6 separate regions of the Homo sapiens genome follow, and all the other regions are linked to region 1. Evidence: promoter capture Hi-C in 16 types of primary human blood cells and fetal thymus (Javierre and others, 2016). All regions are on one chromosome and are shown on one strand. The core of a region is centred on a gene start or on the middle of the fragment in contact, and the rest is flanking DNA. Distances in the headings are between cores, read along the strand shown. Region 1 holds the start of CD99 (CD99 molecule (Xg blood group)). Region 2 overlaps P2RY8 (P2Y receptor family member 8). Region 3 overlaps AKAP17A (A-kinase anchoring protein 17A). Region 4 overlaps ASMT (acetylserotonin O-methyltransferase). Region 5 has its middle 44 kb from the start of ASMT. Region 6 has its middle 45 kb from the start of LINC02968.

Region 1 (4,753 bases), core at 1,228-3,727:
TTCCTCTATACACCTCCCTCTGTCCATCCATCCCTCACCACATCCCACCTGTACCCCTGAGAATTTATGAAGGAACCAAGGAACACAGGGTCCCCAACACTCTGAGATCAGGCCAGAGCTATCAGCACCAGTCTGAGAACCTACTTCAGGCTCAACGGGGTTTTGCAGCCTGATGCACGTTGCTATAAGAAAGTGTGTTCTGAGCATCACCAACTCAAAAGTCAACTTTCCCGATGAAACGTGTATTAATATTATTGGGACAGGCTGTTTCTGTCTCCATCTCTAGCAGGGTCAGACTGCAAAGAAGGGGTGAGAAGCGTCCCTCAAGGAGATCCATCAGTGCTGACGGCCAGGCCCTCCTCTGCAATTGGAAGGATAGGTTGGCCCCTGTTATGCCCCTATCCCACTGCTCTTCCCTACCCACCCACCCCATAGACAGGTACTCTTCCCTTTACTCAAAGCATCAGCAGCTGGAGTTCCTAAGCCCAGTCTGCTTCCAAAATCAGGAGTTCCAGATGAACACTGCTGTGGGTTTAAAAACTGTGCAACGCCAATGAGCCGACATCGTGCCACTACACTCCAGACTGGTGACAGAGTGAAACTCCGTCCAAAAAAAAAAAACCACCACCACCAACAAAAACAAAAAAACTGTGCAACGACTTGTTTGGGGCTTAGAGAATATAAGGCTTTCCACTCACTCTGCTCCAATGACCTGGAACGCCAGACCAGCCGGCAAATCTGTCCCTAGGGCTTCAAAATCCAGCCAAGCCCCTCACCAAGATTTACCACTGGGAACCCCTGAGTTATTTCGTGATGGAACTATAAAGGTCCCTGTGGCCCTGTCTCCCGTCTGCCTGTTCAGATGCCTCTGTTCTCCAGGAAACTGAATTCTTAGGCCACCAGCACTCCCTTGGATATATTTCCCTGACCCCAAGCCCACAGTAGGTGCAAAAGAAGGAAGGCAGGCATGAAGGATGAAGGAATGCATTCGCAGAGAGACAAGTGAAAAACCCGTTCATCTGCAGGTGCCTGGGGAACAAATGCAGCTGATAAAACCCTACAGAGCCATCCCGTCCGTGGTGACAGGTTGCCCGCAAGAAGGACATTTAGGAAGAAAAGGGAGAAACAGGAAGCTCTGCTTGGAACCTCCCCTGCAGGCTGGAAAGTCCTCCAAGTTTTCCTCTACGGAGCAGGCTTCATTATCTCTAATCTCTACCAAGTGAAAGCACAATTTCTAGGATACCCGGGACCCCTTTAAAGAGGGTGTAAATCCATTAGCAACTCCTCCCTAAAAATAGAGACCCGGCCTAGTCACCGCAGCTCTAGGCTGAGCTAGATCCTATCAACACAAATCGGGCCTCCTCCGTCCTCCCCAGGGCCGGGCGTTCCCGCGTCTCCTTCCTAAATACGTCCAGCCCTGATAAGGCCCGTCCTGAAGTCCACACTGCCCGCAAGCCGGTCTACTTAAAAGCCTGCCCATACGAAGAGCAAAAAATGCACTGACCATTGAAAAAAGAATTTATAACATGAAAAAAGAATTTATAACATACCACATCCGGCAGGGTCTCCGTTTCCGTTTCAAAGGGAGGGAAACAGAAAAACATGATTAAAGTAATAATTAGAAATAGGCCCGGTTTAGGGCGTGGGAGGGTGACCGTGGCTCTTTCTTCCCTGCCCACTTTTTCTGTTTTCCGAATTCTCCACCGCCGCAGATGGACAATTTGGTAAGCACACGTTTCTTTCTGCGCCCCGTGTTGCTTGGCGCACAGCACGCGCTGAAATTCCCGGAGCCCGCATCCACAGAGTATTTTTGAACATTTTCAGGGCTCAAAGTTTTTTTCTAACTTTTCCTTCCCTTCCCCCCACCACCCGGGTCTCAGGCTCCTAGCGATTCCAAATTTAGGCCCGGGACGCAGGGCGTGGCTGTGACAGGCAACTCCAGGGCGGCCTCCGCGCGCGGCCTGAAGACGCAGGTCCCCAAACCCTGGGGGTAGATAACGGGGTGGGGTGAGGGGCTCATGCAAAGGGAGAGAGATCTGTAAGAAGGTCCCCTAGATTGGGAAAAATCGGACGCACCTCTCCCAAGGCCGCCCCACATGTAAGAGTTTGCAACTCCGACAACAAACGCTGACTTTTCTCTCTGGAACGGCTCCAGGAAAAGCGTTGGGGAGAAAGTGGGCGCCTCCTCCGGGCCTGGGCCCCCGTGGGCACAGCGCGTCCTGCCGGGCAGGGAGGAGGCTCCGGGTGTCCCCGCGGGGCGCCCCCAACGCCGCATCTCAAGCGGATCCCCAGTCCCGGCCCGCGCCCTCCGCGTCCCCCAACCCGGATCCCTCCGCTCGCTCACCCGGGGCGGCGACCAGAACACCCAGCAGGCCGAAGAGCAGCAGCGCCAGCGCAGCCCCGCGGGCCATGGTGCGCCCAGAGCGCGCAGGGACGGTCCCGGAGTGCAGGGCGTGGGCGAAGGCGGCAGGACAGATACTCCCCCACGGGCCGGGTGGGGCGAAGCCCGGGGACTCGAAGGGGGCGGGTGAGGGGAGCGGCCCTGCAAGCTCAGCGCCGGCTGCGCCCGCCCCGCCCCGGCCTCCACGCGCGCACAGAAGGGGCGGGAACGCCGGGCCCGGGGAGGAGACAGAGGGGGTAGGCGGGCGGGGGTGGCCCAGGCAGCGCCGAGGGGAGTACGGTACACGCCCCGCCCCTTCTCAGGAAACTGCCCACGCCCCCTCACCCACCCACAGGGCCGTAGCCAGGGCGGCGCCGACCCGAAGCAAAGTGAACTACAACGTTCTCGGGAAAGTGCGGGTCCCTCCCGGTTTACAGCCCTCTGAATGCACGCCCGAGGGCGGCCCTTAACTGTAGTGGCACAAAACTGCCGCCCTTCTTGGAAACATAGAGCCCCCTCTCCCCACTCGCCCCTGCAGCCACTTCTCCGCCCCTCACCCCCTGGTCTCCAGTGGGAGCAAAAAAACAAACTTTCCCAGCAGCTCCCCTGCTCGGGAAAGTGCGGGTCCCTCCCTGTCTACAGCCTCCTAAATGCACGCCTGCAACTGTAGCGACACGAAACTGCCGCCCTTCTTGGAAACGTGTAGCCCCCCTCCCCACTCGCCCCTGCAGCCCCTTCTCCGCCCCTAGCAGGGACCCTCCCCTGCTCTGCAGTGGGAGCAGAGGAAACTCCCGGCTCCCCTGCTGGGAAAAGTATGGGGGCCCCTCCCCGCTGCTCACCTCAGGGAGTTCCCCAAGGGGAGCAAAGTGCAATCCTCTCCCTGCTCAGGAAGCCTAGGCCCCCGCTCCACAGGCAACCCCCGTCCCAAGTCCTTTCTAGAGCGTCCGAGCGCGGGGTGCGCAGCCGGGAGGGTGGCGGACGAACCCTTTGCGCCGGACCAAGGACAACCCTTGGAGTAGCCTCTGCGCTGGGGCAGTTTCTCCCCAGAATCCCCAGGACAAGGTTGGGAGTGGGGACTCCTGGTCACGGGAGTTAGTGAGGGGCAATAGGGAACGAGGTGCCTTCTATCTGGGGCACCTGGGCCCTAGTCCTGGTCATGGGCGACTCGCCTTCCAGTGGGCTTTGAGTTTAGACACCCTCCCGCGCCACTGGCCACAGCTGCAGTGCAGTTGTCGCCCTTCCCACACTTAACAATGTTATCTGTTAACACCTAAGCCTAAAATTGTATCCATTTTCCCGCAGGGTAGTGGAACAACTTTGCAGCCTGACAAATAACCCTGAATATTCTTGCATTCCACACTTCAAACTGTCCACGAAAAGAGTCAAACTAGGCCGGGCGCGGTGGCTCACGCCTGGAATCCCAGCGCTTTGGGAGACCGAGGCGGGTGGATCACCTGAGGTCAGGAATTGGAGACCAGCCTGACCAACAAGGTGAAACCCTGTCTCTTCTAAAATACAAAATTAGACGCGTGTGGTGGTGTGCACCTGTAGTCCCAGCTACTCAGGAGGCCGAGGCAAGAGAATCGCTTGAACCGGGGAGATGGAGGTTGCAGTGAGCCAAGATCAGGCCACTGCACTCCAGCCTGGGTGACAGAGCGAGACTCCGTCTCAAAAAAAAAGAAAGAAAAAAGAAAAAAAGAGAAAGGAGTCCAACTCTAACATATTTGAAGAGATTTATTCTGAGCCAAATATGAGTGACCATGGCCCATGACACAGCCCTCAGGAGGTCCCGAGAACGTGTCCTCAAGGTGGTCGGGGTGCAGCTTGGTGTTATACGTTTTAGGGAGGCATGAGACATCAATGAAATTTAAGAGACACATTGGTTTTGTCCAGAAAGGCGGGACAACCCAAAGCAGGAGGCTTCCAGCTTATAGGTAGATTTTAGAATTTTCTGATTGGCAATTGCTTGGGTTTCTTTAAAGTCCTGGGATCAATAGAAAAGAATGTCTGGGTTAAGATAAAGAATTGTGAAGACTCAAGTTCTTATTTGAACAGGAACCCTTCCGGTGCTAGGGTCAGAGAGAAGAGGTTGTAAAATGTTTCTTCTCAAACTTAAAGGCTGTGTGGATGTTAACGCCGGAGAGGCACCGGGAGGCATGTTCAACCCCTGCTTCCCGTCACGGCTTGAAACACTCTCTCAGGTTAAATTTTTAAAGAGCTCTGGCTGAGGAAGAAGTCCATTCAGATGTTTTGAAGGTGGGGGGCGGTGGGGGCTTAGAATTTTATTTTATTTTATTAATTTATTTAGTTTTTGAGACGGAGTCTTACTCTCTCGGCCAGGCTAGAGTGCTGTGGCACCATCTCAACTAACTG
Region 2 (4,753 bases), core at 1,255-3,754, 1.2 Mb after region 1:
GTTTCTTTTTTTTCTTTTTCTTTTCTTTTTTTTTTTTTTTGAGACGGAGTCCCACTCTGTCCCCCAGGCTGGAGTGCAGTGGCGCGATCTCAGCTCACTGCAACCTCCACCTCCCGGGTTGAAGTGATTCTCCTGCCTCAGTCTCCTGAATAGCTGGGATTACAGGCACCCGCCACCACCACGCCTGGCTAATTTTTGTATTTTAAGTAGAGACAGGGTTTCACCATGTTGATCAGACTGGTCTCGAACTCCTGATCTCAAGTGATCCACCCGCCTCGGCCTCCCAAAGTGCTGGGATTACAGGCGTGAGCCACCACGCCCGGCCTGATGTTTGCATTTCTATCCATACTGGTTTACTAGCGGAGTGACTGAGTTTCTAAAATACTAATATTAAAAATACTTGGCCAGGTGCGGTGGGTGCCTGTCATCCCAGCTACTCGGGAGCCTGAGGCAGGAGAATTGCTTGAACCAGGGAGGCGGAGGTTGCAGGGAGCCGACATCGCGCTACTGCACTCCAACCTGGGAGACAGAGTGAGACTCCATCTCACAAAAAAGAAAGAAAGAAAGAAAAAAAACTCCCAGGAAGCAGTGTTGAATATCTTCCCAAGTCCTAGTTACCTACAAATGACTGCTCCGTCTGAAGCCGCGGCTGACTGAATGTTTTAAGGGGACACCACCTTCCTTCCCAGCCTGTTCCCTCCAGGAAAATAGTAGAGGACAGAGGCTCCAAGAAGTAGATTTGGGAACTGCAGACAAGTTGCTTCCTGTGAACTGAGCGGAGAGAGAGAGAAACCCTCTGAGAGGGCAGAGGGCAGGATCCCAGGGAGTCGCACCCGGGAGGGCTGTGGCTGTGGCTGTGAGCCTTCTCATGTGGCTCCCCAACGCCAAGGCAGGCAGCCACTGAACAATTGTGAATAACCATTTCCCACCCTGTAACGTGCTGTCTCTACTGAGAAGCTGGCGGGGGAGCATGACTCCAGATGGCCTCGAGATGGTCTTTGGGATTCAACAGCAGGGAGAAGCCAGTGGTACCCAAGTTGACGTCCATTCAGCCTAGGTCTCAGCAGCATCCCAAGTTCACTTCCATTCAGCCTAGGTTTCGGCAGCATCTCTGACGTCTGCCTTCTCCCAACTGCTTCAGAGTGGATGGGTAGTCAGCTCGGCCGCCGTAATAAAACACTGCAAACTGGGTGGACTGTAAACAACAGACATTGTTTCTCCCACAGTCCTGGAGGCTGGAGGTCTGAGATCCAGGTGTGGGCAGGGCTGGTTCCTCCTGAGGCCTCTCTTGTGGACTTAGAGACATCGACTTCTCCCTGTGTCCTCACAGGGTCATCTCTCTGTGTGTGTCTGTGTCCTCATCTCCTCTTCTTATGAGGTGTCTTAGTCCATCTCAGGCTGCTGTCACAGAATACCGTAGACTGGGGGGCTTATACACAACAGACATTGATTCTCCCACAGTCCTGGAGGGTGGAGGTCTGAGATCCAGGTATGGGCAGGGCTGGTTCCTCCTGAGGCCTCTCTCCTGGGCTTGGAGACGCCGTCTTCTCCCTGTGTCCTCACAGGGTCATCTCTCTGTATGTGTCTGTGTCCTCATCTCCTCTTCTTATGAGGTGTCTTTGTCCATTTCGAACGACTATCCCAGAATACCATAGACTGGGCAGCTTAGAAACAACAAACATTGATTCTCCCACAGTCCTGGAGGCTGGAGGTCTGAGATCCAGGTATGGGCAGGGCTGGTTCCTCCTGAGGCCTCTCTCCTGGGCTTGGAGATGCCGTCTTCTCCCTGTGTCCTCACAGTGTCGTCCCTCTGTGTGTGTCTGTGTCCTCATCTCCTCTTCTTATGAGGACACCGGTCCTATTGGATCAGGGCCCACTCCTGGTGACCTCATTTTACTGTAGTTAACTCTTTAAAGAGGTAACCTCCAAATACAGCCACATTGTGTGGTCCTAGGGGTTAGGACTTTAACGTATGAATTTGGGAGGGTACAATGCAGCCTGTAACAGACACAACACTCAGAAAATATATACTGAGCTCGCTGTTTGTAATAAAGGGCTCTCCCTTTAATTTTTAAGACAGGGTCCTGCTCTGTCACCCAGGCTGGAGTGCAGTGGTGTGAGTTCAATTCAGTTCCGAACAGTGAGTACAGTGCAGTTCAGCTCACTGCAGCCTCAAGCTTCCAAATAAAAAACTGTCTTAGCATCATCCAATGAGTACTGACTACTTTTAAATAGTGAATACGCAGCCGGGCGCAGTGGCTCATGCCCGTAATCCCAGCACTTTGGGAGGCCGAGGCGGGTGGATCACCTGAGGTCAGGAGTTCAAGACCAGCCTGACCAACATGATGAAACCCTGTCTCTACTAAAAAAAAAATACAAAAAAAAAAAAAAATTAGCCAGGTGTGGTGATGTATGCCTGTCTTCCCAGCTACTTGGGAGGCTGAGGCAGAATCATTTGAACCTGGGAGGAGGAAGTGACAGTGAGCGGAGACGGTGCCATTGCACTCCAGGTTGGGAGGCAGAGCGAGACTCAGTCTCAAAAGAAAACAAATAGTGACTATGGACATACATATTTTTAAAAATTAGTATTTTCACATAAAGCATAAAGTAATATCCAATATATCCAAGAGAAGCTGTCCTTAAGTTTAACCCATTTTCTAATCCTAAACTAACCCTTCTGAGGCAATGGTCCCGCATACATGGAGGCCAAACTCATTTTTTTTTTTTAAAGCCTAATTGAAAAATACCGCATTAGGAGAAAAACACATAAAATCCCCCTCGGATTACCTGACCTCGCTCCCTGGGGCCCAGGGCCAAAAAGAGGAAGCTTTTCCATCTATTGTTGCTCTGGCCAGTTTCATAACCGCCATGCACCAAGCTCAGTCTGCAGATGACAGATCGCAGCTAAGAGCAGCTTGCTGGGTCTCCGGAGGCTGCTGGTGTCTGTCTCAAGGTGCGGTGCAGGCACAGCCAGTGGGATTTTTTTCCCAGCAGAGCAGAGAGCTGGCCCTCCACTCCTGCTCCTGTGCGGAGCTCACTCCCATAGGGCAGCCGCCTCTGGCCCAGGAGGAGGGTCCCCCAGGACCCCCTGCCTAGCTTGACGGCTGCTCAGACAAGCACCACCAGACCAGCATCACCCAGGACGTCTGCCCTCCCTGCAGCCACCGTTGTAAGTCACGGGGACCTGGGAGTGTTCGGGTAGGAGAGGCTGCTCTGCAGAAATACCCCAGCTAGCAGGGCATATCCAGGCCAGAGACGCTGCTGAATGCCAGAGAAAGCCCTCAGCTCAGCCTCCCTTTGGGGTGTGTGATTTTTAACCCGGGCTCACCAGAGTGCTGCAAAAGGACACACAGCCTCCAGGCAGGAGCTGTGCCATTTGCACAAGCTCTCGAGGGTCGCAGAGAGGGCTGAGGTTGGCCTAAAACAGACCCCCTTCTTGCACATCTTCAGACGTTGCCGCAAGAAAAGAGCAAAATCGTCTTGTCCGTTTTAACGGAGATTCCCAGTTTGCAAGCCAATTGTTCCTTTGACGAGGGGTACAGGCCGGCCCACGCCGAGATGCTGGGTTGGGTGGCTCTCGGATGAAGAAAGTCCCACCTTCTTTAAAATGCGCTCTCCCAGAAATCTTCTTCACACCTGTCTTTGGCTTTTATTTTGCTTTTGTTTTGTGGGGAGGAGACGTTGTTCTTGGTTTTTCGCTAATAAAAATAGTTCACGTCGACTGAGTGAGGAGGAAGCAGCAGCCACTTTTACAAGGGCTTTATCTCTGCGATCTTTCCTTCCTTCCCTCCCTCCCTCCTCCCTCCTTCCTCCTTCCTCCTCCTTCCCTCCCTCCTCCTTCCTCCTTCCTCCTCCTTCCTCCTTCCCTCCCTCCCTCCTTCCTCCTTCCTCCCTCCCCCTCCCCTCCCCTCCCCTCCCCTCCCCTCCCCTCCCCTCCCCTCCTCTCCTGTCCTCTCTTCTCCTCTCCTTTCTTTCCTTTCTTGTCTCGCACTGTTGCCCAGGCTGGAGTGCAGTGGCGTGACCTCTGCTCACTGCAACCTCCGCCTCCCGGGTTCAAGTGATTCTCCTGCCTCAGCCTCCCACGTAGCTGGGATTACAGGCGCCCACCCCAACGCCCGGCTAATTTTTTGTATTTTTTAGTAGAGATGGGGTCTCACTATGTTGACCAGGCTGATCTCGAACTCCCGACCTCATGATCCACCCGCTTCGGCCTCCCAAAGTGCGCCTGGCCTGATCTCTGGGATTTTCGAAACTTCGTGAGACAGGTGCTGTTACAATCATCCCTGTTTTACCAGTAACGGAAACTGAGGCAGACATGGAGGCGGGGGTGTGTTCAAGACCTACAACCAGAAAGAGGCAGAGGTGGGCGCTGAGTGCTGCTCGTTAGCCTTGAACCACTGCACTGGGGAATTAGTGATGAATGATACGTGACTGCCTTTGAAACAACCATGTCTCAGCCCAGGGCAGGTGGCCTGGGCTCCGTGGGCCCTCTCTCTGGAACTAGGACAATTCTGTCCCTCAACTGGGAGCCCAACCTGCCTACCCCTAGTGCTTGAGGCATAACTGTCTTCTATGGCCAGCAATAGAAACTTGAGTCGAGCTAGCTGAAGTCAAGGTGGAAATTGTCAAATTGGATAATTAGGATTTCTATGGGGGCTTCAGGCATGGCTGGATCCAGGAGCTTACATGGTTGTCAGTTTCTCCTCTTTCTCTTTCTCTCTTCCCACGTTTCAGCCCCACCTTTTTCTGCCTC
Region 3 (4,753 bases), core at 1,601-4,100, 1.1 Mb after region 1:
GGAGGAGGATTCCGCCTCACTAGGAGGGTGGGAGGGACGGAGAAGGAGGAGGAGGAATCCACCTCACTAGGAGGACACGGCAGGAGGGATGGAGGAGGAAGAGGACGAATCCGCCTCACTAGGAGGGCACAGCGGGAGGGATGGAGGAGGAAGAGGAGGAGGAGGAGGAATCCACCTCACTAGGAGGGTGGGAGGGACGGAGAAGGAGGAGGAGGAATCCACCTCACTAGGAGGGTGGGAGGGATGGAGGAGGAGGAGGAGGAATCCACCTCACTAGGAGGGTGGGAGGGATGGAGGAGGAGGAGGAGGAATCCACCTCACTAGGAGGGTGGGAGGGATGGAGGAGGAGGAGGAGGAATCCACCTCACTAGGAGGGTGGGAGGGATGGAGGAGGAAGAGGAGGATTCCGCCTCACTAGGAGGGTGGGAGGGATGGAGGAGGAGGAGGAGGAATCCACCTCACTAGGAGGGTGGGAGGGATGGAGGAGGAGGAGGAGGAGGAGGATTCCGCCTCAGGGGATTCACAGAAAGTTGTTGGTTCCCTCCTGCAATGCTAAGAAGATAAAAGGGGCTACAAAGAGTGACCTGAGGTTGTCTCTGGTACCCCAACCACAGTGAACGACCCAGGCAATTGCTTTAAAGGCCTCTTATGTGAAACCGGGTTTTTGTCCTATCATTGGTTTTTTGTTTTTTTTTTTTTTTTTAAATCTGGCCATCACCATCAACCCTCTACTTCATTTTGTAAATGTAGCCTCAACCTAAATGCAAACTTGCAAACAGCCAAGGCATTCTGCTTGTTTCAGCGGGAGGTGTGAACAGCATGTGGAGGGAGAAGAGGTGGCTCTTCGGGCAAGGCGCGGTCCTGGGAGCCGGCAGAGATCGTGTCAGACCACGACGTGTGACAAGAAAAAGAGAAACATTCATATTCTGCTGCGTCTCAAACAGCCACTCACGCAGGTCCTCACGTGCACAGCTGAGCACCCACAGGCCTGCACACACACCCATACGTGCACACACAAGTACACACACGGGTTCACAGGCACACACGCATGCACACAGGCACATGTGTGCTATGTGCCGATACAGAAGCACACACATGTGGGCACACGTGCACATACACACACAGGTACACACACGAGCTCACACACATGCACGCACACACAGGCACACGTGCACACAGATGCTCAGGCACACACTCGGGCGCACATAGGGACATACAAAGTACACACACCGGTTCACAGGCACACGTGCGTCCATGCACACAGGTACACACACAAGCTCACAAGCATGCATGCACACACACACGCACAGGAATACATGCAGACACACGCACACGGGTCTGCGCACACTCCCAGGTGCCGGACACCAGCGCCGAGGGCCCGCTCCCGCAGAAGGTACCTTTCCTCCGCTCGCTGCCTCTCCTCCGCTTCCTTCTCTCTGCGCTTTTGTTCTTCTCTTTGCTGCTCCAGTTCCTGAAGCTTCTGCCTCTCCAGCTGCCGCTTCTTAATTGAGGCATCACTCAGGTGTTTGGTCGAATCAAAAGAAACCTTTAAAAGCAAAAACAGTGTCAGATGGCCTTCCCCCAAAACCCCCCAGACACACGGCCAGGCGCCCTCTCCTGGGCCGTAGGGCCGAGTGGCCTCAGAGCCTGAGCGCCCGCTCACCGCTCACCGCTCACCACTCATGTCCGGTGCAGACCCAGACAGTGGAGCCCAGAAGCCAAACCAATCCCTTCAAGTCACCATCAGTGGCTCAAGACTTAGCTCATCCCACGGAGTTACGACTCAGCGAGGAACACCAACTAGCCCTCGCCACTTACTGAACACAAGTGACACGCCACCGCTGCGAGACACAGCTCCCCTTCCGCTACCCGGCTCCACCATTCCCTGTGGCCACAGTCACTGAGCAGGCCGCCTGCCCACACCCACAGGGCACATCTTAAGGCCACAAAACCCCCTCCAGGAGGCTGGCTCATTTGTCACTGTGAAGCCAACACGGTCAAAACACGAGGCTAGGCTGAGCGCAGTGGCTCACGCCTGTAATCCCAGCACTTTGGGAGGGCGAGGCAGGCAGTTCATGAGGTCAGGAGTTCGAGACCAGCCTGGCCAATACGGCAAAACCCTGTTTCTACTAAAAATACAAAAATTAGCCAGGTGTGATGGCACGCGCCTGTAGTCCCAGCTACTCGGGAGGCTGAGGCAGAAGAATCGCTCGAACCCAGGAGGCGGAGGATGCACTGAGCAAAGATTGCGCCACTGCACTCCAGTCCAGGAAACAGATCGAGACTCTGCCTCGAAAAAAAAATAAAAATAAAAAAAATAAAAAAAATAAAAAAGCACATGAGGCTAAAGGGAACGTTCAGCCCTGGTTTCAAGGTGCATTCTGGGAAGGCCGGGTTCTCTTGGTTCTGACACGGTTCAAATCCCTGTCAGAGTTCCTGAGGCTCCATCCCTCACCTACTATATGACCTGTGTCTCCCCCACATCTTCCTTAAGATACCAAATTTCCAAAACCACAGCACGGGACCCCTACTCCACCTCACGCCTGTGCCTCTGAAATTGGACAGGCACAGGACTGTTGCTGCCATTTTACTTAGGGGAGGTCCCCACAGCCTCAGGGGTGTGGCTGGGAGCGTTCTGCTGACCCTGCTGGAAGGAAGTCGCCAGAGGGAGGAAGCGCGTGGCTCTCTCGGTGCCCAGGACTCACCTTGATGTTGCAGGCCACGGCCTTGCCGTCCTCGCCCTTGTACATGAGTTTCATCCCGCGCAGGGCGCTCATGGCCTGGATGAAGCCCATGTACTCGCGGTACTGCACATAGGCCTCGAAGTTCAAGTGCCCCCCGAAACTGAAGGTGTGGAAGTTGCGGCCCGTCATCTCCTCCCGGTAGGGGTCCAGCATGGGGATGTCCACATTCCGGATCTCCCCGAACTTCTCAAACACCTTGACCAGGACGTCCTCGCTGGGCTTCTCGGAGCCCGACTCCTTCAGGGCGAACCACTTGCAGGGCAGCCCCTCCAGGTGGATGGTGTCCGGCCGCTCCCCCGGCAGGGTCTCGTTCATGTCCTTGGCGTCGCGGAAGAAGGAGTCCCAGTCGTGGCGGGTGGGGAAGTCGATCTTGAACTCGGCCGCGCGCACCTTCAGGATGTCGGAGAAGCCGCTGAGCTTGATGGTCTTGCCGTCCAGGCAGGCCAGAAAAGACTTGACCAGGCTCTTGTTCTCCACCTCCCCCTCGAAGCGGATGAAGTCCATGGTGCTCTTGGAAATACGCAGCGTGGAGAACTGGTGGTTCTGCACCATGCCCTTCAGCCTCTCCATCACCTCCCAGTTGGAGATGGACTTCCCCGGCTGCTTCAGCTGCGGGAGTGCCACGCTGATGGTCATCTTGGTGATGGGCTTCAGGTACAAGCCGTAAGCAGGGCAGAGCTCCACGGCCTCAGACGTGTCGTGCACGATGGTAGCCGCTGCCATAGCCTCCGGGACCTTGGGCCTGAAACATAAGACGCAGACAGTCAGCACCAGCACCCCCCACCTCCCCCGCCAATGAGGAGGGGCCAAGCCAGCAGGCACTTTCTGGACCCGGAGAAGAGAAACAGCAGTGTCTCTCTGCCGTGTCAGAGACCGGTTTCCACTTTGTTAACAGCCATCTCAACGGAGTTCTTTACTTTTTGAAATCATTAAGAGTACACCAAAGGGGAAAGAGCCGAGCTGATAAAGAACAGGTTAGTGTCAAAGCCTCGGTCAGCACTGCCCGACACCCTACATCCAGCAGCCAGCAGCTCCCAAGGCCTGCAGAATAGGAAGCTGAGCACGACCAGGCCCCTCACACAGGTCAAGTAGGAACGGGGACGCTACAAACGCCTAGCTCCACGGGAAGGGGCAGAGAGACACTGGGGAAGGGAAGGGGCCAGGGAGAGCACAGCTGCAGGCATCTGGAAAGGTTTTGTGGAGGGGGCGGCGGCCCTGTACTTGCCCTGATAAAACAGGAAGTCTCGGGCTGCAACAACAATCCAGAACCATGAACCCTAGTAATCTCCACGAAGGCCAAACGTATCCCAGCTTTAACCCACTCAAAGCCAAAAAGTACAACGAACTTTCCACAAGTTAGGGGCCGGAGTCCCCCGTCTGCGCCTTCTTTCTCCGCCCACCTTCATTAACCCACCTCTTCCCTGCTGAGCTGACGGGCAGCCACTTCCTGACGGCCAAGTCCAAGTAGAGGAAGCTTCACTCGCAGAAACCCAACCATCTCAGGTGACCGCCTCCGGCCCGGCCGCCCACCCCATCAACCTGGAGGCTTCCTGCCAGGCCCAGGAGACGGCCTCCTCGCCCAAGCCCGAGGTGGGAGGTGCGAAAGAAGGGAGGGAGGGTGGAGAAGCGACCAGAAAAGGTCAGTGGGGCACCAGGGAGGGGCTCCAGTCTGGACAGAGACCAGTGAACCCTCCCCCAGAACCCAAGCGGCCCCAGCAACTTCACCACCGAGGAACCCTCCCCACTCTGGCCTCCAGCGCCCTCCGACCACCCCGGTACACCTGGCTGCCCAATCCCCAGTACGCGGCATTGCCCCTGGTATTCCCACCTACCGCAGCCCCCCAGCATGGCCTCAGGCTGCCGCTGGCACCCCTGGCAGGGCCCCACACATTCTCAGGCCCTTGGCCACTCGGTACCCTCAGCTCCTCAGTTCCCCGCTCCCCACCACCCTCCTGGATGAGCCCCAATACCCCAACCTACACAGCACCGCCCCAGCCTCCGAAAACCCC
Region 4 (4,753 bases), core at 1,235-3,734, 1.1 Mb after region 1:
GTATTAGTTGTTTTTCTTATGAAGGTTGTAGTAAGATATATTCTATTCAAGTGGTATTAGCTTTTTTATTAAACTGTTATCAATTCCTGTTTGGTTAAGGTTGCATTGACTGTTTGTTTCAGTAAGTCTGCATAAAGTTTATTATTCTAAGCTTGTATTAGCTCCTTTTCTATTAAAGCTATATTAGGCCAGGTGCAGTGGCTCACACCTGTCATCCCAGCACTTTGGGAGGCCAAGGCAGGCAGATCACTTGAGGTCAAGAGTTCGACACCAGCCTGGCCAACATAGTGAAACCCCGTCTCTACTAAAAATACAAAAAGTAGGCATGGTGGTGCACGCCTGTAATCCCACCTATTCGGGAGGCTGAGGCAGGAGAATCGCCTGAACCCGGGAGGCGGAGGTTGCAGTGAGCTGAGATCATGCCACTGCCCTCCAGCCTGGGCAACAGAGTGAGACTAGGTCTCAAAAAAAAAAAAAAAAAAAAAAAGCTATATTAATTCTTGTTCTTTAATGTTGTATTAACCTTTTTCTTTTTTATTTATTTATTTATTTATTTATTTTGAGACGGAGTCTGGCTCTGTCACCCAGGCTGGAGTGCAGTGGTGCGATCTCGGCTCACAGCAAGCTCCGCCTCCCGGGTTCAAGGGATTCTCCTGCCTCAGTCTCCCGAGTAGCTGAAACTACAGGCGCCCACCACCACGCCCGGCTAATTTTTAAAATATTTTTAGTAGAGACGGGGTTTCACCGTGTTAGCCAGGATGGTCTCAATCTCCTGACCTCCTGATCCACCTTCCTCGGCCTCCCAAAGTGCTCAGATTACAGGCATGAGCCACCACGCCCGGCCCGTATTAACCTTTTTAAATTAGCGTTCTGTTTTGTTTTATTCATTAAAGTTGTATTCATTCCTTTTGGGGTTGTCTCAATTAATTGTTCTTTTAAGGGCATATATTAAATGTTACCTTCTTATGGCTGAGTTCACCCTTGGTCTATGAAAGGTGCATTAACTGTTTCTGTTAAGGGTACGCTAACTTTGATCTTTTTTTTTTTCTGCTCCCAAAGACTTTTTATTATTATTATTATTATTATTATTATTATTATTATTATACTTTAAGTTCTGGGGTACATGTGCAGAACGTGCAGGTTTGTTGCACAGGTATACATGTGCCATGGTGGTTTGCTGCACCTGTCAACCCGTCACCTACATTAGGTATTTGTCCTAGTGCTCTCCCTCCCCAGCCCCCACTTTTTTTTTTTTTTTTTGAGACAGGGTCCCGCTCTGCCCCCAAGGCTGGAGTGCAGTGGCGTGATCTCGGCTCACTGCAACCTCCACCTCCCGGGTTCACGCCATTCTCGTGCCTCAGCCTCCCAAGTAGCTGGTACTACAGGTGCCCGCCACCACGCCCAGGTAATTTTTGTATTTTTAGTAGAGATGGGATTTCACCATATTGGCCAGGCTGGTCTCGAACTCCTGACCTTGTGATCCGCCCGCCTCGGCCTCCCAAAGTGCTGGGATTACAGGCGTGAGCCACTGTGCCTGGCCAAGGGTATACTAAATGTTATCTTCTTAAGGCGATATTCACTCTTGGTCTATGAAAGCTGCATTAGCTAATTGTTTCTGTTAAGGGTGTACTAAGTTTGATCCTCTTAAGGTGGTATTAACTCTGCATTAACTCTGGTTCTGTGAAACTTCTGACAACTCCCATGACATGGTATCATGTGCCTTAAAGTGACTGCTCTTCCAAGATTTAGAACCCACCAGACCACCTCCCTGAACACCGCTGTGAACCAGCGACAGTCTTTGAATGAGCAGTCAATAGCCCCAGCAGGAGGCCTGCGGTCAAAGGAGGCAAAGGTAGCAAGTTACTGTTGTCTGGGACAGTAACAGAAATCCCACCTTTACTAAAAAATAGAAAAATTAGCCAGACATGTTGGCTCATGCCTATAATCCTAGCACTTTGGGAGGCTGAGGCAGGCAGATCACCCGAGGTCAGGAGTTCGAGACCAGCCTGGACAACATGATGAAACCCCGTCTCTACCAAAAATACAAAAAATTAGCTGGATGTCAGTGGCTCACGCCCGTCATCCTAGCACTTTGGGAGGCTGAGGCAGGCAGATTGCCCAAGGTCAGGAGTTCAAGACCAGCCTGGCCAACATGATGAAACCTCATCTCTACCAAAACTACAAAAAATTAGCCAGAGGCAGTAGCTCACACCTGTAATCCTAGCACTTTGGAAGGCCGAGGCAGGCAGATCGCCCGAGGTCAGGAGTTCGACACCAGCCTGGCCAACATGATGAAACCCCGTCTCTGCCAAAAATACAAAAATTAGCCGGGCGTGGTGGTGGACGCCTGAAATCCCAGCTACTCAGGAGGCTAAGGCAGGGGAATTGCTTGAACCTGGGAGGGAGAGGTTGCAGTGAGCTGAGATCATGCCACTGCACTCCAGCCTGGGCAACAACAGTGAAACTCCATATCAGAAAAATAAATAAAAATAAAAATAAAAATAAAAGTTAGCCAGGCTTGGTGGCAGGCACCTGTAATCCCAGGTACTCAGGAGGCTGAGGCAGGAGAATCGCTTGAACCCCGTAGGCGGAGGCCGCTCTGCGTATCAGTGGCTGGGGAATAGGTATTTTTAACCCTTGGGGGCCTAGAGGTAAAATTCACGGGCTCTACAAACCAGGAAGGAGAAGAGACTTCACTCTAATTTTCACTACCTCTTCCTAAGATGTGGTGTTCCCTTCAACCATGAGCGTACTGGCAAACCACAGCCATGATAGAAGAAAGTGTGGGGGCCAGGAGGATCACCTGAGGTTGGGAGTTCGAGACCAGCCTGACCAACATAGAGAAACCCCATCTCTACTAAAAATACAAAATTATCTGGGCGTGTTGGAACGCGCCTGTACTCCCAGCTACTCGGGAGGCTGAGGCAGGAGAATCGCTTGAACCCGGGAGGCAGAGGTTGCAGTGAGCCGAGATAGCGCCACTGCGCTCCAGCCTGGGCGACAAGAGGGAAACTCTGTCTGAAAAAAAAAAAGGAAAAAAACAAACAAAAAAAACCGGTGGCTTGCTGACGGAGAGAAACCACAGATATTTTCAAGTCACACGAGAGCTGCTGCAGACATCTCAAAATATCGTCAGCACACGACCCCCTTTCACGATGATGCTGGTTTTTGGTTTTTGTTCTGAGACAGAGTCTCACTGCGACACCCAGGCTGGAGTGCAGTGGCATAATCTCGGCTCACTGCAACCTCTACCTCCTCCGGGTTCAAGCAATTCTCCTGCCTCAGCCTCCCGAGTAAATGGGATGACAGGTGCCCACCATCATGCCTGGCTAATTTTTATACTTCTAGTAGAGACGGGGTTTCACCATGTTGGCCAGGCTGGTCTTGAACTCCTGACCTCAAGTGATCCGCCCACCTTGGACCCCAAAAAGTGCTGGGATGACAGGCATGAGCCACCGCGCCCTGCCGTTTATTTTTTAAAGAGACTCAGTATTGCTCTGTCATCCAGGCTGGAGTGCAGTGGTGCAATCATAGCTCACTGCAGCCTTCATCTCCTAGGCTTAAGCGATCCTCCCGCCTCAGCCTCCTGAGTAGCTGGGACTACAGGTGTGCACCACCCCACCTGGCTAATTTTTAAAATATTTTTGGCCAGGCACAGTGGCTCACGCCTGTAATCCCAGCACTTTGGGAGGCCGAGGCGGGCGGATCATGAGGTCAGGAGATCGAGACCATCCTGGCTAACACGGTGAAACCCCGTCTCTACTAAAAATACAAAAAATTAGCCGGGCGTGGTGGCGGGTGCCTGTAATCCCAGCTACTCGGGAGGCTGAGGCAGGAGAATGGCGTGAACCTGGGAGGTGGAGCTTGCAGTGAGCCGAGATCGTGCCATTGCACTCCAGCCTGGGCGACAGAGCGAGACTCTGTCTCAAAAAGAAAAAAGAATTTGTAGAAATGGGGGGTCTCACTATGTTGCCCAGACTGGTCTCGAATTCCTGGGCTAAAGCGATTCCCTCGTTTCGGACCCCCAAACCGTTGGGATGACAGGTGTCACCGCTGAGCCCGGCCATCATTAACCCTTTTCAAGCATAATTCAGGGGCACTTAGTACATTCGTGATGTTGTATAGCCAGCACTTCCGCCGGGTTCCAGAACATTTGCATCACCCCAAAAAGGGACACTGTCTCCGTTAAACACTCCCTCCGCAGTCCTGCCCAGCCTCTGCAAACCACCAGTCCACTTTCCACCTCGAAGGATTTGCCTGCTCTGCACATTTCATATAAATGAAGTCATACCATATGGGGCCTTTCACGTCAGCCTTCCTTCACTGAGCACGATGTTATTCTGTGAGAAGAAGAAATGAGGCCTTGGGAGGCCGAGGCAGGTGAATCACTTGAGGTCAGGAGTTCGAGACCAGCCTGGCCAACATGGTGAAACCCCATCTCTACTAAAAATACAAAAATTAGCCGGGCGTGGTGGTGGGTGCCTGTAATCCCAGATACTCGGGAGGCTGAAGCAGGAGAATAGCCTGAACCCTGGAGGCGGAGGTTGCAGTGAGCCAAGACCGTGCCACTGCACTCCAGCCTGGGTTACAGAGTGAGACTCCAGCTCAAAAAAATAAAAAAAAGGAATGAGGTGTTGCTCCTCTACGGGTGAACCCTCAAAACTCACCTCTATGATAAACGCACAGTGTAATTATTTACTGGGTTAATAAACAACCACATATACTACTCTATCATGAAATGTTTTAAAAATTT
Region 5 (4,753 bases), core at 162-2,661, 1.0 Mb after region 1:
AGGCCCTGTGTAATTGACAGCTGCCTGGCTCTCATTGACATCACCTGGCTGGGTGACTGCAGCAGGGCTCAGCCAATGGGGAGCAGGTGCAGGGGCTAGAGGGCGGGAAGAGAAGGCCCTGTGTAATTGACATCTGCCTGGCTCTGATTGACATCACCCTGGCTGGGTGACTTCAGCAGGGCTCAGCCAATGGGGAGCAGGTGCAGGCACTAGGGGGCGGGAAGACAGAGAAGGCCCTGTGTAATTGACATCTGCCTGGCTCTGACTGGCGTCACCCTGGCTGGGTGACTTCAGCAGGGCTCAGCCAATGGGGTCCAGGCGCAGGGGCTAGGGGGCGGGAAGAGAAAGAAGGCAAAGAACGGATTCCTTCTCCTCTACCTTTAGCCCTGGGCGTCAGGACTTGATAGAACAGCCCCTCCCTTGCTCCTTGAGGTCTGGGATTTGCATCAGCCTCCCTGGCGTTTTCTTCTCATTTGACCCGCCCCCCCTTCTCAGTGACCCTCCTTTTCTCCAAGGCTCTGACGCCACGGAGCAAGAAGTCAGTTCGCCGCCTGTACACTGACCTATGTAGGCAGATATTATTATTATTATATTATTATTACATTTTTATTATTATATTTATATTTCATTTTACTTTATTTTACTTTTTATCTTATTTTATTTTAGAGACAGAGGCTCGTTGTGTTGCCCAGGCTGTAGCGCAATGGTGCAATCTCGGCTCACTGCAACCCCCAACTCCCGGGTTCAAGCGATTCTCCTGACTCAGCCTCCTGAGTAGCGGGGATTACAGGCATGCGCCACCAACCCTGGCTAATTCTTGTATTTTTCAGTGGAGATGCGGTTTCTCCATGTAGGCCAGTCTGGTCTCGAACTCCTGACCTCAAGCGATCCGCCCGCCTCGGCCCCCCAAAGTGCTAGGATTACAGGCTTAAGGGTCATTTTTAAGAAGACTCCTTGTTCAAAGAAGTCTGCTGAGCAGTGAGTTTGTGCTAAAACAGCTTGCGAAGCTCGGAGAGGAGACTGTTCGCATTCCCGAACTCGTGTTGGGTCACACACGCCGCTGTTGGGAAGACAATGGCACCTGCCGCTCAGACCCATCGAGGCCGGACAGGGGTTTTATCAAGGTCAGCCCCAGGTCGCTTCCCGTCTGTAAATGGAGTCTCGTGGTGCCCGAGGTCGGGGGTGGCGATGCCCGGAGATCGTGCAACGGCTCCTGGGAGGTAGGAAGATCTCTGGTGCCGTCCGGGTGCACTCTGGGTGTGAGCACTAACCAGCGAGCCCCCTGGCCTGCAGAGACGGCCTTTCCTCCACACTCAGGTCACCTGTGAGGAATGTACCTATGGCCCAAGAAGCCGAGATGGCCCAGAGCGCAGGGCTCTCTCGGGGCAGGTTGTGCTTTTTCACACCTCGGACGCTGCCCTGCTGTTCCCTCCGCTACCACATCCACCCAGGGCTGAACGCACCAGGCTCGTTGCCACCAGGCCTCACCTGGGACCACACAGAGAGTGTCTGCCTGTGCCCCTCCTCTCACACACACAAATCAGCATGTGCCTATACACATACGCACTTGCACATACACGCACACACATAGATGCACACATGCAGACACACGTATACACACATGTGCAAATGCTCACATTCACATACACAAATACAAATACAAATGCATACAGACACTAACAGGCATACACACTCATACATATCCATATCTACACACACCCAAATATACACATGCACAAACACATACACACAAATGCATACAGACACCAGCATACACGTGCATACATATCCATATGTACACACACAAAGGCACACATGCACATATGCACACATACACACAAATGCATACAGACACTAATATACATGCTCATACATATCCATATCTACACACGCAAATATACACATGCACATACACACAAATGCATACAGACATTAATATACACGCTCATCCATATCCATATCTACACACACAAATGCACACATGCACATATGCACAAATGCATACACAAACAACTGCACACACACTAGCATGCATATACACACACATGCACACACACAGACACCCAAATATACACATGCAGAAACACACTCATGTGCAAATACATAATACACTTACACAGACATAAATACACAAATATAAACACACACATTCACATGCATACACAAAGAGGCAAACACACACAGACAGCCATACATATACAAACACACATCCACAAAGACACACACATATGTACAGACACAAACATAATCACAAGCAAAGATAACACACAAACACATACACAGACACACGCAGAAACACACACGCATACACACATTCCTGAAGCTCTCCACCTCTACCAGCCACACAACCATATGCACACACATACACATTTCTTAGTTAAGAAAAATAGACCGGGCGCGGTGGCTCACGCCTGTTATCCCAGCACTTTGGGAGGCTGAGGTGGGCGGATCACGAGGTCAGGAGTTCGAGACCATCCTGGCTAACACAGTGAAACCCCGTCTCTACTAAAAATACAAAAAATTAGCCAGGCGTGGTGGCTCATGCCTGTAATCCCAGCACTTTGGGAGGCCGAGGCGGGGAGATCGCGAGGTCAGGAGATCGAGACCATCCTGGCTAACACAGTGAAACCCCGTCTCTACTAAAAATACAAAAAATTAGCCGGGCGTGGTGGCGGGCGCCTGTAGTCCCAGCTATTCGGGAGGCTGAGGCAGGAGAATGGCGTGAACCCGGGAGGCGGAGCTTGCAGTGAGCTGAGATCGCCCCACTGCACTCCAGCCTGGGCGACAGAGTGAGATTCTGTCTCAAAAAAAAAAAAAAAAAGAAAGAAAGAAAGAAAAATAGAAAAACACATCTTTAGAAACTATCACCTGCAAACTGCAAAACAAACAAACAAACAAACAAACAAAAAAGTGTGCTGGGGCTTGGATACCACAACTGACAACCTAAATTATTGAGGTAGCAAACTGCCTAGAAGAGGTAGACATTTGCGGCCCTGAAATCAGGACCCGGCGGTGAGAGACACCGCCTGCGTTGTTTTTACAGTTTTATTAGCCACATCCCTCAGGGAATCTCACCGCAGGTCTCAGGAGCTCTCTCTAATCTTGTTAACCTTCTGCGCCTCTCCTCCCGGAGTACAAACTAATCTTTCTTAATGCAAGAGGACAGGGCAGCTTTGGAAAGGCCGTCACCAGACAGCCAGCGTTCCCCATCCTCACAACTGGACCTTGGAGAGCTTTGGTGTATGGAAACCGGCTCCCCTGGAGGGGGGAGGTGAAACGTTGAAACCCTGACAGACGGTGTCACTGAGCTTAGAGCTCATGTTTCTAGAAAAGGCAACAGATGCAGTGTCTGATGACGAAGCTTAATTTGGGATGTGCTGAGCAGGAATTATTTAAACCAATCCGTTGATGAATTTGTCTTTAAGGAATATGTCCTTTCTCTCGTGAGTCACTCAGGCTCCTGGACACCTGCCTGCCAGCCCTCACTGAATCTCCCCAGAGGCTCTTCATGTCTGCTGCCTGACAATTTTCTCCAGAGTGTACAAAAGCAAAGGAGAGAGCTCCCCTCCCAGACTGCTGGAGGGATGTGGGGACTTACCGCATGGCTGATGCTCTCAGGTTCCAGCCAGACTTAATGTCCTAAAATGCACCCAAGACAGGCAGGCCTGGGTCCAGACGGCCAGCGGGGAGGGCTGCCCGGGCTCGTCTGCAGAGCCCGGAAAAGGAGGAGGAGGTGAACAGAGGAAGGAGGAAGGGTGATGGGGCCTGCAGGGTGTGATATGACGTGAGTTATCACCTCCCTTTGTGCTGCTGCTGTTTCTTACTGTGGGAAAATACCCATCACACACAGTTTGCCATTTTAAAAATTGCACAATGAAGAGACGATTTAGTGCACTGAGCATTTTACACAACCACCGGCCCTAGCTAGTTCCAGAACACCTTCGTAACCCAAAAAAAAACACCCCATACCCATTAAACCGTCACTCCCCAGTCTCCCTGCTCTCAGCCTTAAGCAATCACCCATCTGCTCTCTGACTCTGCAAGCAGTCTTATTCTAGACACTTCATGCAAATGATATTGTGCCATTTTGCACTTTTGTGCCTGGGTGTTTTTTGTTGTGGTGGTGGTGGTGGTTGTTTTGTTGTTTTTGTTTTCACTCCGTTACTTCTACACCAAACTAATACATGATGTATTCAGTCAGAGGCTATCAAGGACTCAAAAGAATACAACCTTTTCTCTTTTTTTTGAGATGGAGTCTCACTCTGTCACCCACGCTGGAGTGCAGTGGCGTGATCTCGGCTCACTGCAACCTCCGCCACCCGGGTTCAAGCGATTCTCCTGCCTCAGCCTCCCGAGTAGCTGGGATTACAGGTAACTGCCACCATGCCCGACTAATTTTTTTTGTATTTTTAGTAGAGATGGGGTTTCACCATGTTGGCCAGGCTGGTCTCAAACTCCCGACCTCAGGCGATCCACCCACCTCGGCCTCCCAAAGTGCTGGGATGACAGGCGTGAGCCACCACACCTGGCCCCCATTTTTATGGTTATTTCTTGATGATATGCTAAACTAGGAGTGGATTATTCATATGGACTCTTTTTAGACCATATACATTGTATTAGTCAGGGTTCCTTAGAGGAATAGAACTAATAGAAGATATATACACACACACGCACACACACACACACATATATATGTATTGTGTGTGTATATATATGTGTGTGTGTATATGTGTGTATATATGTGTGTATGTGT
Region 6 (4,753 bases), core at 647-3,146, 1.0 Mb after region 1:
TGTTGGCCAGGCTGGTCTTGAACTCCTGACCTCAGGTGATCCACAGGCCTCGGCCTCCCAAAGTGCTGGGATGACAGGCGTGAGCCACCGCGCCCGGCCCTGAGAGTGTTTCATGAGGACATAGTTTCAGTTGCGGAAGATAAACAAGCTTGGGAAGTGCAGGGTGGTGAAAACTGCACAATAATGAGAATGTCCTTAATGCTACTGAACTGTACATTTAAAAAAGGTTAAAAACAGGAGTTCAAGAGCAGCCTGGCCAACATGGTGAAAACTCATCTCTACTAAAAATGCAAAAATTAGCCGGGCACGGCAGCACACGCCTGTAGTCCCAGCTACTCAGGAGGCTGAGGCAGGAGAATCACTTGAACCCAGGAGGCGGAGGTTGTAGTGAGCCGAGATCGCGCCACTGCACTCCAGCCTCGGTGACAGAGCCAGACTCCTTCTCAAAAAATAAATAAATAACAGGAAGGGGAATATCACACTCTGGGGACTGTGGTGGGGTGGGGGGAGGGGGGAGGGATAGCATTAGGAGATATACCTAATGTTAAATGACGAGTTAATGGGTGCAGCACACCAGCATGGCACATGTATACATATGTAACTAACCTGCACAATGTGCACATGTACCCTAAAACTTAAAGTATAATAAAGAAAAAAAAAATTAAAAAAAATAAATAAAAAATAAATAAAAAATAAATTACCTTAGGGAAAACTGAAAAATAAATAAATAAATAAATAAATGGCCGGGCACAGTGGCTGATGCCTGTAATCCCAGTACTTTGGCAGGCCAAGATGGGCGGATCACAAGGTCAGGAGATCGAGACCATCCTGGCCAACATGGTGAAACCCCATCTGTGCCTCTGGTCCCAGCTACTCAGGAGGCTGAGGCAGGAGAGTCACTTGAACTCAGGAGGCGGAGGTTGTAGTGAGCAGAGATTACGCCACTGCACTCCAGCCTGGGTGACAGAGCGAGACTCCTTCTCAAAATAAATAAATAAGTAACTAAAAATGGTTAAACAGGTAAATTTTTTTTTTTTTTTTTGGAGCTGGAGTCTCACTCTGTTGCCCAGGCTGGAGTGCAGGGGCGTGATCTCGGCTCACTGCAAGCTCCGCCTCCCGGGTTCAAGCGATTCTCCTGCCTCAGCCTCCCGAGTAGCTGGGACTACAGGCGTCCGCCACCATGCCCAGCTAATTTTTTGTATTTTTAGTAGAGACGGGGTTTCACCGCGTTAGCCAGGATGGTCTCGATCTCCTGACCTCGTGATCCACCCGCCTTGGCCTCCCAAAGTACTGGGATTACAGGCGTGAGCCACCGCGCCCAGCCAAAACAGGTAAATTTTAGGTTACGTATACCTTACCCCCGTAAGAAACTCATTCAAGAATTTCAAAAAATTCAGAACTAAGCACTCTGTACCACCTCCTTTGTTAACTCCATGTCACTATCTCCTGACCCGCATTCCTGCAACCATCTCCTATCCTACCGGCTTACACAGTTGTTCCCCACAATTTACTTTCCCCCCTCCCCTCCCCCCGAGACAGAGTCTCACTCTGTCACTCGGGCTGGAGTGCAGTGGCACCATCTCGGCTCACTGCAACCTCCGCCTGTTGGGTTCAAGCAATTCTTCTGCCTCAGCCTCCCGAGTAGCTGAAATTACAGGTGCGCACCACCTCACCTCACCTGGCTAATTTTTGTATTTTTAGTAGAGACGGGGTGTCACCATGTTGGCCAGGCTGGTCTCGAACTCCAAACCTCAGGTGATCTGCCTGCCTCAGCCTCCCACAGTGCTGGGATTACAGGTGCGCACCACCACACCTGGCTAATTTTTGTATTTTTAGTAAAGATGGGGTTTCACCTTGTTGGCCAGGATGGTCTCGAACTCCCGACCTCAAGTGATCCGCCCGCCTCGGCCTCCCAGAGTGCTGGGATCACAGGCGTGAGCCACCGCACCTGGCTTATAATTTACTCTTGACACCGCTGTAAAGGGATCTTTTAAAAACCTTAGTGAAACGCATGTGAGTGCCCTACTCAAAAATCTACAATCTGTCCATCGAGAGAAGAGTGAAGTAACAAAATATAATTCATTCACATACGACTTCGAGTAACTCTATGTACCTCCCAAAGTCCTCATCTTCAAATATCATCACATTGGATGTTACGGCTCCACAAACGAATTTGGGGAGCAGTACAATTCAGTCCATTCAACGGTGTCTCCTCAAAAAGATATGAGTATGGCTTAACCCCCTAGAACCTGAGAATGGGACCGCGTTTGGTATAAGACTCTTTGCAGAAGTAATCTAGTTAAGGAGTTAGGGATGAGAACATCATGGATTAGGGTGAGCCCCAAGTCCACTATTTGTGTCTTTTTTTAAGACACGGAGTTTCACTCTTGTCCCCCAGTTGGGGTGCAGTGGCACGATCTCGGCTTACTGCAACCTGGCCTCCTGGGTTCAAGCAATTCTCCTGCCTCAGCCTCCCAAGTAGCTGGGACTACAGGCACCTGCCACCATGCCCAGCTAATGTTTGTGTTTTTAGTAAAGACAGAGATTCACCACATTGGCCAGGCTGGTCTCGAATGCCCGACCTCAAGTGATTCACCTGCCTCAGCCTCCCAAGGTGCCACCGCACCTGGGTTTTTTTTTTTTTTTTTTTGAGATGGAGTCTCTCTCTGTCACCAGGCTGGGGTGCAATGGCACGATCTTGGCTCACTGCATCCTCTGCCTCCTGGGTTCAAGTGATTCTCCTGCCTCAGCCTCCTGAGTAGCTGGGATTACAGGTGCCCATCACCACGCCTGACTAATTTTTGTACTATTAGTAGAGAGAGATTCACCATTTGGCCAGGCTGGTCTCGAACTCCTGACCTCGTGATCTGCCTGCCTCGGCCTCCCAAACTGCTGGGATTACAGGCATAAGCCACCATGTCCAGCCTTTTTTTTTTTTTTTTTTAAGAGATAGAGTTTCCCTCTTGTCGCCTACCTGGAGTGCAGTGGTGTGATCTCGGCTCACTGCAACCTGGCCTCCAAAGTTCAAGCAATTCTCTTGCCTCAGCCTCCCGAGTAGCTGGGACTACAGGCACCCACCACCATGCCCGGCTAATTTTTGTATTTTTAGTAGAGACAAGGTTTCTCCATGTTTGCCTGGCTGGTCTCGAACTCCTGCCCTTGGGTGATCTGCCTACCTCGGACTCTTAAAGTGCTGGGATTCCAGGCATGAGCCTATAAAGAGCTGGGATTACAGGCAGCTGATTGTACCTGTATCACTTAGATTTTAACTAGGAAAGCAAAGTCTGTTCAGTGCTTGTCTGAGTATATATTAATACATCTAGAATTCCATGCATTGCCTAAGTCTTTATCATCAAAGAAAATAGCTGTCCAAGAGCAGAAACCACTGATGAATTTGTGAGATGCTTTAGGAATATTTTGCCCAGCTGGCATTCACAGGAGGAGGCAATAGCTTCTTCCGGAGAACACCCGACCAAAACAATCACATTCTTTCTGATTTGTTTAGCTCTGATGTTGTTCAAAACTAGAGCAGATTTTCAGGCAAGACTGAAGTGGAGATAATAAGTCCTCCTTTGTGGGCTGGTGGTCCCTGCTGTCCCAGGAGAAGAGTTAAATCCACTCTTGGGAAGTGCCAAGAAAGCTTCGTGTTTTTTTATTTTTATTTTATTATTATTATACTTTAAGTTTTAGGGTACATGTGCACAATGTGCAGGTTAGTTACATATGTATGCAAGTGCCATGTTGGTGTGCTGCACCCATTAACTCGTCATTTAGCATTAGGTATATCTCCTAATGCTATCCCTCCCCCCTCCCCCCACCCCACAACAGTACCCAGTGTGTGATGCTCCCCACCCTGTGTCCATATGATCTCATGGTTCAATTCCCACCTATGAGTGAGAACATGCGGTGTCTGGTTTTTTGTCCTTGCGATAGTTTGCTGAGAATGATGGTTTCCAGCTTCATCCATGTCCCTACAAAGGACATGAACTCATCATTTTTTATGACTGCATAGTATTCCATGGTGTATATGTGCCACATTTTCTTAATCCAGTCCATGATTGTTGGACATTCGTGTTCTATGCTGCTCTGAATAGTTCCACCGTTAAATAAAAGAGGCAGGGAAAATACACTCCCTCGAGTTTTTTGTAAACCCCAAAATCCCTGGAGAAATAACACACCCCAAGAATAATTCTAAAAATTGGCACGTGCCATGGTGTTACTGTAGCGGAAATCTCAAATGCTCAAAAACAAAGTGGACAATGAAAGAAGGTAATTATGTGGAAATAGAGCCCAGACAAAGAATGCAATACTGTCCCAGAATAAACCGTCACCCATGACTCACACCGGGCGTTCAAGATGTCCACAGACGTGTGGGAAAATGAAACCCAGCCGTCTGCCTTCTCTTCTTTCTTTGAAATCTCTCATCCATCAGCAGCTCTGTTGGGCCATCCCTCCCAAGGCAGGCACCTTTTATCTGAGTGAACTCTCTGGGGCTTTTGCTAGACAAGGGATCAACAGGGCTTTGTCCTCATTCAGAAATGATGAATGTGGCTTTCAGGATTCCTTGGAAAGTAGCAAAAGTGTCAATAGGACTACCTCAAATTAGGCATGATACATGATGCTGTATAGCTTGATTCAAGTTTGCATCAATGACAGGGACACATTATAGATACATCTACAGTACCAGCCCAAAATGAAACAGTCACCGAATACCCTACATAGCTCTGTGATGGGCTAAGACCTGAGACAGACT

Evidence for each region. Contacts are between HindIII fragments. The CHiCAGO score rates a contact against its expected background, and 5 or more counts as called.
Region 2: a fragment that was not itself captured here is called in contact with the fragment with the promoter of CD99 in region 1 in 5 of 17 cell types (activated CD4 T cells, non-activated CD4 T cells, M0 macrophages and 2 more); the score reaches 7.7 in activated CD4 T cells.
Region 3: a fragment that was not itself captured here is called in contact with the fragment with the promoter of CD99 in region 1 in 13 of 17 cell types (non-activated CD4 T cells, activated CD4 T cells, naive CD8 T cells and 10 more); the score reaches 14.6 in non-activated CD4 T cells.
Region 4: a fragment that was not itself captured here is called in contact with the fragment with the promoter of CD99 in region 1 in 7 of 17 cell types (M0 macrophages, naive CD4 T cells, naive CD8 T cells and 4 more); the score reaches 8.4 in M0 macrophages.
Region 5: a contact is called between a fragment that was not itself captured here and the fragment with the promoter of CD99 in region 1, in 14 of 17 cell types (non-activated CD4 T cells, activated CD4 T cells, monocytes and 11 more). The highest score is 26.8, in non-activated CD4 T cells.
Region 6: a contact is called between a fragment that was not itself captured here and the fragment with the promoter of CD99 in region 1, in 7 of 17 cell types (neutrophils, naive CD8 T cells, naive CD4 T cells and 4 more). The highest score is 10.8, in neutrophils.

What each region holds. Positions count from the first base shown.
Region 1 is chrX:2,689,019-2,693,771 of GRCh38, reverse strand. CD99 (CD99 molecule (Xg blood group)) reads right to left here and starts at 2,477. Exons shown (of 10, transcript NM_002414.5): 1 at 2,345-2,477. The coding sequence starts at 2,411. The HindIII fragment of the contact is 9,076 bases long and covers 1-4,753 here.
Region 2 is chrX:1,492,509-1,497,261 of GRCh38, reverse strand. All of the region lies in intron 1 of P2RY8 (P2Y receptor family member 8), which reads left to right. Among named protein-coding and RNA genes, the nearest start is that of ASMTL, 42 kb to the right of the region's middle. The HindIII fragment of the contact is 650 bases long and covers 2,180-2,829 here.
Region 3 is chrX:1,592,177-1,596,929 of GRCh38, reverse strand. It overlaps AKAP17A (A-kinase anchoring protein 17A), which reads right to left. Exons shown (of 5, transcript NM_005088.3): 2 at 2,706-3,486; 3 at 1,398-1,546. The coding sequence starts at 3,467. Among named protein-coding and RNA genes, the nearest start is that of AKAP17A, 2.9 kb to the right of the region's middle. The HindIII fragment of the contact is 2,741 bases long and covers 1,480-4,220 here.
Region 4 is chrX:1,615,901-1,620,653 of GRCh38, reverse strand. All of the region lies in intron 1 of ASMT (acetylserotonin O-methyltransferase), which reads right to left. Among named protein-coding and RNA genes, the nearest start is that of ASMT, 3.2 kb to the right of the region's middle. RefSeq lists an enhancer at 1,507-2,144. The HindIII fragment of the contact is 4,661 bases long and covers 154-4,753 here.
Region 5 is chrX:1,656,717-1,661,469 of GRCh38, reverse strand. No RefSeq gene overlaps it. Among named protein-coding and RNA genes, the nearest start is that of ASMT, 44 kb to the right of the region's middle. RefSeq lists enhancers at 3,171-3,670, 3,671-4,172. The HindIII fragment of the contact is 3,904 bases long and covers 1-3,363 here.
Region 6 is chrX:1,685,477-1,690,229 of GRCh38, reverse strand. No RefSeq gene overlaps it. Among named protein-coding and RNA genes, the nearest start is that of LINC02968, 45 kb to the left of the region's middle. The HindIII fragment of the contact is 3,492 bases long and covers 151-3,642 here.